2 separate regions of the Homo sapiens genome follow, and region 2 is linked to region 1. Evidence: promoter capture Hi-C in 16 types of primary human blood cells and fetal thymus (Javierre and others, 2016). All regions are on one chromosome and are shown on one strand. The core of a region is centred on a gene start or on the middle of the fragment in contact, and the rest is flanking DNA. Distances in the headings are between cores, read along the strand shown.

Evidence for each region. Contacts are between HindIII fragments. The CHiCAGO score rates a contact against its expected background, and 5 or more counts as called.
Region 2: a contact is called between a fragment that was not itself captured here and the fragment with the promoter of NUP214 in region 1, in 1 of 17 cell types (endothelial precursors). The highest score is 7.0, in endothelial precursors.

Annotation. Positions count from the first base shown.
Region 1 is chr9:131,124,032-131,127,262 of GRCh38, reverse strand. It overlaps NUP214 (nucleoporin 214), which reads right to left and starts at 1,677. Exons shown (of 36, transcript NM_005085.4): 1 at 1,514-1,677. The coding sequence starts at 1,558. It also overlaps the pseudogene RNU6-881P. RefSeq lists an enhancer at 1,479-1,778. The HindIII fragment of the contact is 3,004 bases long and covers 1-1,709 here.
Region 2 is chr9:131,327,901-131,331,668 of GRCh38, reverse strand. All of the region lies in intron 1 of LOC105376299 (a long non-coding RNA gene), which reads right to left. Among named protein-coding and RNA genes, the nearest start is that of PLPP7, 40 kb to the right of the region's middle. RefSeq lists an enhancer at 588-1,542. The HindIII fragment of the contact is 2,522 bases long and covers 1,153-3,674 here.

The DNA of each region.
Region 1 (3,231 bases), core at 428-2,927:
TACAGGCACCCGCCACCATGGCCATCTAATTTTTGTATTTTTAGTAGACACAGGGTTTCATTATGTTGGCCAGGCTAGTCTCGAACTCCGGACCTCAAGTGATCCATCCACCTCAGCCTCCCAAAGTGCAAGCTCACAGGCATGAGCCACCACACTCGGCCCTCATTTTTTTCTGATATGGAACACTTCATGAATTTGTCTGTCATCCATGTAAAGGGGCCATAATAGTCTTCTCTGCATGATCCCAATTTTATATGTGCTGCCAAAGGGAGTGCGAGATTACCATCTTCTAAGTCTGTGGTTCTATTAATAAAACCTTTTTTTCTTCTACCCCAGCATATCTGAGGAATATGACACAACCCCATTAGGTGGCTCACCACAGGTGGTGATTCTCAAAAAATAATCACTATTCTAGGACAGCACGGTAGCTCACGCCTATAATCCCAGCACTTTGGGAGCCAGAGGAGGGCGGATCACGTTAGGTCAGGAGTTCGAGACCAGCCTGGCCAACATCGTGAAACCCAGTCTCTACCAAATGATATAAAAAATTAGTGGGGCGTGGTGGCAGGCGCCTGTAATACCAGCTACTAGGGAGGTTGAAGCAGGAGAATCGCTTGAGCCGGGGAGGTGGAGGTTGCAGGGAGCCGAGATCATGCCACTGCACTCCAGCTTGGGTGACAGAGCAAGACTCTGTCTCAAAAAAAAAAAAAAATCACTATTCTAAACATGGTATTACTATGCCCTAAATGCATTTTAGTGATTTATTGTTCACACAGATGCCTAAAATCTTCCTGCAACTTACTTCTTTTCACTATTTAAAACAGATGTAGCCCGTCTGTTGTACCCTCATTCTGTCAGAACCCATATAAGAACTATTAAACACACCATCCTGAAGTTATCCCTGGGGGACTCCCACGTTGCTATCACTGGGACCACTTGGCCCTCCCTTTAGGTTCCTGACTTTAGGCTGATATACCGAGGTCAAAATAGTCTTCCTAGTCCAATCAACTAAAGGTTCTGCAGGATGGATGACCTTCCCTGACTCTACGTTAGGCAAGCCCGTATCACCTTACAGAAGTACTGGGAGAGCAAAGGTCTTAAATGATGCTGGCTTTCAGCCCCGCGTCAAATGTGACTTTAGGGAAATTACTTTCCGAGCCTCAACTTACTCCTCTACGTTAACGACTACTTCGTAGGGCTGCCGCGATGACTACCACAGTGCCTGGCACACAGTCAACACTCAATAAACAGCAGTTATTGCCACTATTGTGACCGCCCCAGGAAGTAGCTAGGGTAACTCAACAGCCGTGCACGAGACCAGGATGGGACTGGGAAACTGCATTCGGTGGGGCTATCACGCCAGCGGCGCGGCAGACGCGCTGGTGAGAGCTGTGAACGCGGTAAACTGTTCAAGCAGGAGGCGGGACAGCCAGCACCGCGCTTCGCCTTTCAGCTGGGCTCCAAGGCAACGCCAGGACTAAAGAAGGGAGGGAGGCCCCGGTTAGTCTCTGACCTTCATCTCCCGCTCGGGAATCATGGCATCCATCTCGTCTCCCATCGCGCCGCCCTCAGTGTGTCGAAGCAGCCAACGCTGCCTCCCACGGCCTTGCCCACGGAACCCAGGCCGCTCGACAGCAAACTTCCTCCCCTCAGCGCCAGCGGCGCGCAGTTGACCTCGCATTTCCGGCGCGCTTTGGTGACGTCAAGCTTGGTCAGAGGAAGCCGCGGAACCTAGCGAAGCCGCGCGTTCTTCCGGCCGCCGCTCCCCATTGGCCAGCTCGGGCTGAGTAGTGGCGTGGCCGTGAGGTCCCTGCGCCTGCGCCCTGGATGGTCCTGGTGCCGCTCCCGCCTTCGCAGCCAGCGCGGGCTTACCTAGTGTTAAGTCTCTCTTCTTGGGTGGCCCACGCCTAAGCGACCTATGCTTCTTGTTCTTCTGAAATCTTACAGTTCCCCTTAGATGTAGGTTGGCTATTGGTAGCTTCCGATTCAGATAAGTTTGGAACTTGACAGATGTTTTCGGGGGGCTGCTTTAGAGAGAGGCTTTGGACTATGCAAGGGGAGGAAGGGAGGTTCAGAAAAACGGGGTCGGGGGGTCGGCAGGGACGACTCTTAAAGTGTGGAAGGTGGAAGGCTGGGAGGGGAGATTAAAGGGCACCGAAGACCAGCTTTGTTTGCTCCTATCAAGGTGATCCTTTCCAGAGCAAGAGCCATATCCATGTCTAGTCGCACGAGTTTGTGCCAAGTCCTTTGCAAAAACCTTCAGATGTGGGATCTCATGTAATCTTGAAGACATCTTAGTCGTCCTAGGGGTTATTTATTTAATTGATGAGACGCGGGTGGCTCATGCCTATAATCCCAGCACTTGGGAGGCGGAGACAGGAGGATTGCTTGAGACCAGGAGTTTGAGACCAGCCTCGGCAACATGGCGAGACCCCGTCTCTATAAAAAACAAAACAAAACCACAAAAATTAGCCAGCAGTGATGGCATGCGTATGTAGTCTCAGCTACTCGGGAGGCTGAGGTGGGAGAATTGCCTGAGCCCAGGAGGTTGAGGCTACAGGGAGCTGTGATTGCACCATTGCACTCCAGCCTGGGTGACAGAGCCAGGCCCTGTCTCAAAAAGTAAATAAAAGGCCGGGCGCGGTGGCTCACGCCTGTAATCCCAGCACTTTGCGAGGCCGAGGCGGGCGGATCACGAGGTCAGGAGATGGAGACCATCCTGGCTAACACGGTGAAACCCCGACTCTACTAAAAATACAAAAAATTAGCCGGGCGCGGTGGCGGGCACCTGTAGTCCCAGCTACTCGGGAGGCTGAGGCAGGAGAATGGCGTGAACCCGGGAGGCGGAGGTTGCAGTGAGCAGAGACAGCGCCACTGCAGTCTGGCCTGGGCGAAAGAGCGAGACTCCGTCTCAAAAAAAAAAAAAAAAAAAAAGTAAATAAAAATAGGCTGGGAGCAGTGGCTCACGCCTGTAACCACAGTACTTTGGGAGGCCGAGGTGGGTGGAACACCTGAGGTCAGGAGCTCGAGACCAGCCTGGCCAACATGGTGAAACCCCGTCTCTGCTAAAAATACAACAATTAGCCGGGTGTGGTGGCGGACGCCTGTGTTCCCAGCTATACAGGAGGCTGAGGCAGGAGAATCGCATGAACACAAAAGGTGGAGGTTGCAGTGAGCTAAGATTGTGCCACTGCACTCCAGCCTGGGTGACAGAGTGAGACTCTGTCTCAG
Region 2 (3,768 bases), core at 1,164-3,663, 200 kb before region 1:
CCAAAGTGCTGAGATTACAGGCATGAGCCACTGTGCCCAGCCCGCTCCCTGCACATTTGATGGATTCCAGGGTACTCTGTGAACACTGACCCCTCTTCAAATCCTGCCCACAGCTTGTCAAATGGGGCCTCAGCGCAGAAGGCCAGCAGGGCCCTTATCAGTCAGCCCCACATGTGTCTGAGAGCCCACAGCAGGCAGCCCATTCTATGCCAAGCCCCTCACGAGCCCCGTTATCAAGGGACACATTCCAGCCAGGCCTCCCTTGTAAGGAGGGGAAGAGAAAGCCTGCCGCTTTCCGGCCAAGTGGGGAGGGGGCGCAGGGGCAGGAAGAGGATTATCACAGCAGGAAGGCCAGATGCTGGACTTGTTTCTTCAGGCAGCTTGAGAAAACACCACTGGGCTGGCTTGGCCGCCCTCAGGCCTAGAATGTGACCCTTCTCAGGAGGGGACCCCCTCCCTGCACTGCTGGGGTGAGGGTAGGTGGGGACAGGGACAACTGGTTCTTAGGAAGCCAAGAGAGCTCGTGTTTGCTCCCAGGAGCCTGGATGTGGCTGGTGAAGGTGGCTGGGGGTTTAGCCAGAGGCTGGAGGATTCTTCTGGGGAGGGTCTCAAAGCACCTTCCCCCGTGTGGCCTGCTCTCCCCAGGCTCAGCCAGCACCTGCCACGGGGGAGGACTCCAGCTGGTGAAAGAATAAACGAGCCAGAATGCAGGCCTGAAGGCTCAGGCTTTCTTTTTTTTTTTTGAGATGGAATCTCGCTCGTCACCAGGCTGGAGTGAAGTGGTGTGATCTCGGCTCACTGCAACCTCCGCCTCCCGGGTTCAAGCGATTCTCCTGCCTCAGCCTTCCGAGTAGCTGGGACTACAGGCGCGCACCACCATGCTTGGCTAATTTTTGTATTTTTAGTAGAGACAGGGTTTCACCATGTTGGCCAGGATGGTCTCGATCTCCTGACCTCGTGATCCACCCGCCTCGGCCTCCCAAAGTGCTGAGATTACAGGTGTGAGCCACTACTCAGCCTGGGTTTTCTTATTTTGTAGAAAATCCATTTCCCTCGTGCAATACTTGATGAGTCAGGCTTGATAGTGGGTGGTTGAGGATTTGGAGACACAAATCAGGTGGCTGGGTTGGATGTTGGAAAAGTCAGTAAGCTTTGCTGAGTCTCAATTTTCTCATCCTTAATGATAGATATTGGAAGCTCTTTCTTCATGTGGCAGTGTGTGTCAAGGGCTTAGTATAGAGCTGGCCCTGGTGGGTACTGCTGAAACTCTCTCTGTGGGCCACATACACGCACACGCACACACACACACAGTCACACTCACACATACACACACTTAGCACTAATTAAACAGCAGGTGGCCAGGCATGGTGCCTCATGCCTGTAATCCCAGCACTTTGGGAGGCCGAGGTGGGCGGATTGCTTGAGCTCAGGAGTTCGAGACCTTCCCTGAAAACCCCATCTCTACCAAAAATACAAAAAATTAGCCAGGCACGGTGGCGCATGTCTGTGGTCCCAGCTACTCTGGAGGCTGAGGTTGGAGGATCACTTGAGCTCAGGAGATGGAGGTTGCAGTGAGCCGAGATTGCATCATTGCACTCCAGCCTGGGTGACACAGTGAGACCCTATCTCAATAAATAAGTAAATGAATAAACAGCAGGCATAGCCAGTCTCTTTACATGGATAAGCACACTCAATCCTCATCAGCACTCTGAGAACAAGATACAGTTGTTATTCCCATGGTACAGATGAAGAAACCGAGGCTTAGATGAATGAAATCACTTGTCTAGGGTCACACCAGCCTAAGCAGAAGAACAGGGTTGGATCCCAGGCTGTTTGACCTCAACATGTGCATTCTTGGTGCCACATTTTCATGCCTTCAAATGGATTCATGAACCACTCATGGCCAAGGCAAGATGCAAAGAGCAGCCTGTGCCATGCCCTCCAAGGTCCCCCTGATCACAGAGGAGCTTGCCAGACCCTGTGTAGACTCCACTTCCCTTTGCACAAACCCTCGAGCCTGGAGCCTTGTCTTTCCAGCCGTTGGTAAACCAGAAGCAGCAGACGGGGAAGGTGGTGCCGGCTCAGCCCAGCGAGGCACGCAGAGGCCACAGCACCACATACTTCTGAGGGTCTGGGAGCAAGGCTGGTGCAGGGAGGCTTTTGAGGGGGACCGGGAGGACTCTAGAAACAAAGCCAGCCACGCCCCTCAGCTTGGGGGGAAACAGCTCCCGACACATCACCAGCCCCTAAGGTGTCACAGCAGAGTCACCCAACAGTGAGAAGCCTGGGAAACAGCGGAGGGGCACCGGCTTTGAGTTGCACATGAGTGGCTCAGATTTCAGTGCTTCAGGGGCCTCAGCTTTTGAGTCATGACTGTGGGAGCCCTGAGGGACACACCTGCTCCCTCCACCTGACCCGGGATGAGCATATTTTTTGAAGCATTGTTGGTCTTACGGAAAGGAGAGTTCATGGAAACGGCCCCCTCCCCAATTCAAACAGGAGATAAATCAAGAAATGTGAGCCGCTCCACAGTGGCTGAAGAAGAAAGCGTGGGTGGTCAGGTGCTGGGCACAGAGGTGGGATCTGGGCCCAGGGCAGTGGCCAACCAAAGGTCCTGAGAGGAGGAAACTGGTCTGGCCTGGCAGGTATCAGTGGGCTGGGAGGTCAGAGGCCAGGTTCCCACAGCAACACCGCCACAGGCGTGGTGGGCATGGTGGCGTGCGTCTGTGATCCCAGCTACTCAAGAGGCTGAGGTGGGAGAATCACCTGAGCCCCAGAAGTCGAGGCTGCAGTGAGCTGAGATTGTGCCACTGCACTCCAGCCTGGGTGACAGAGCGAGACCCTGTCTCAAAACAAAAACCAAAAAACTGGCTGGGTACTGTGGCTCACGCCTGTAATCCCAGCACTTTGGGAGGCTGAGGCAGGTGAACTGCTTGAGCTGACGAGTTTGAGACCAGCCTGGGCAACATGGCAAAATGCCGTCTCTACAAAAATTGCAAAAATTAGCTGGGTGTGGTGGTGCATGCCTGTAGTCCCAGCTACGTGGGAGGCAAGACGGGAGGATTGCTTGAGCCCAGGAGGCAGAAATTGCAGTGAGCTGTGTCATGCCACTGCACTCCAGCCTAAGTGACAGAACTAGACCTTGTCTCAAAACAAAAACCAAAAAACTGGTTGGGCATGGGGGCTCATGCCTGTAATCCCAGCACTTTGGGAGGCTGAGGCGGGTGAATTGCTTGAGCTCACAAGTTCGAGACCAGCCTGGGCAACATGGCAAAACGCTGTCTCTACAAAAATTGCAAAAGTTAGCTGGGTGTGGTGGCGCATGCCTGTAGTCCCAGCTACGCGGGAGGCAAGATGGGAGGATTGCTTGAGCCCAGGAGGCAGAAGTTGTAGTGAGCTGTGTCACGCCACTGCACTCCAGCCTGAGTGGCAGAACTAGACCCTGTCTCAAACAAAACAAAACAAACAAAAAACCCAAAAATTAGCCAGGCATGGTGGTGCATGCCTGTCGTCCCAGGCACAGAGGGGACTGAAGTGGGAGGTGGAGGCTGCAGTGAGCTGTGATTGCACCATCGCACTCCAGCCTGGGTGGCAGACTGAGACCCTGTCTGTAAATCAATAAGTAAGAGATTCAGAGACTGGGTAGGAAAAAAAAATTCCAGATTGATGAAGCTTAAAAGAGATCTGCACACACACAAAAAGAGAGCTCACCAAAAATTTAAGGATCCAAAAAGGTTAAAAATAATTTTCAGAGACATAGTTTCACCA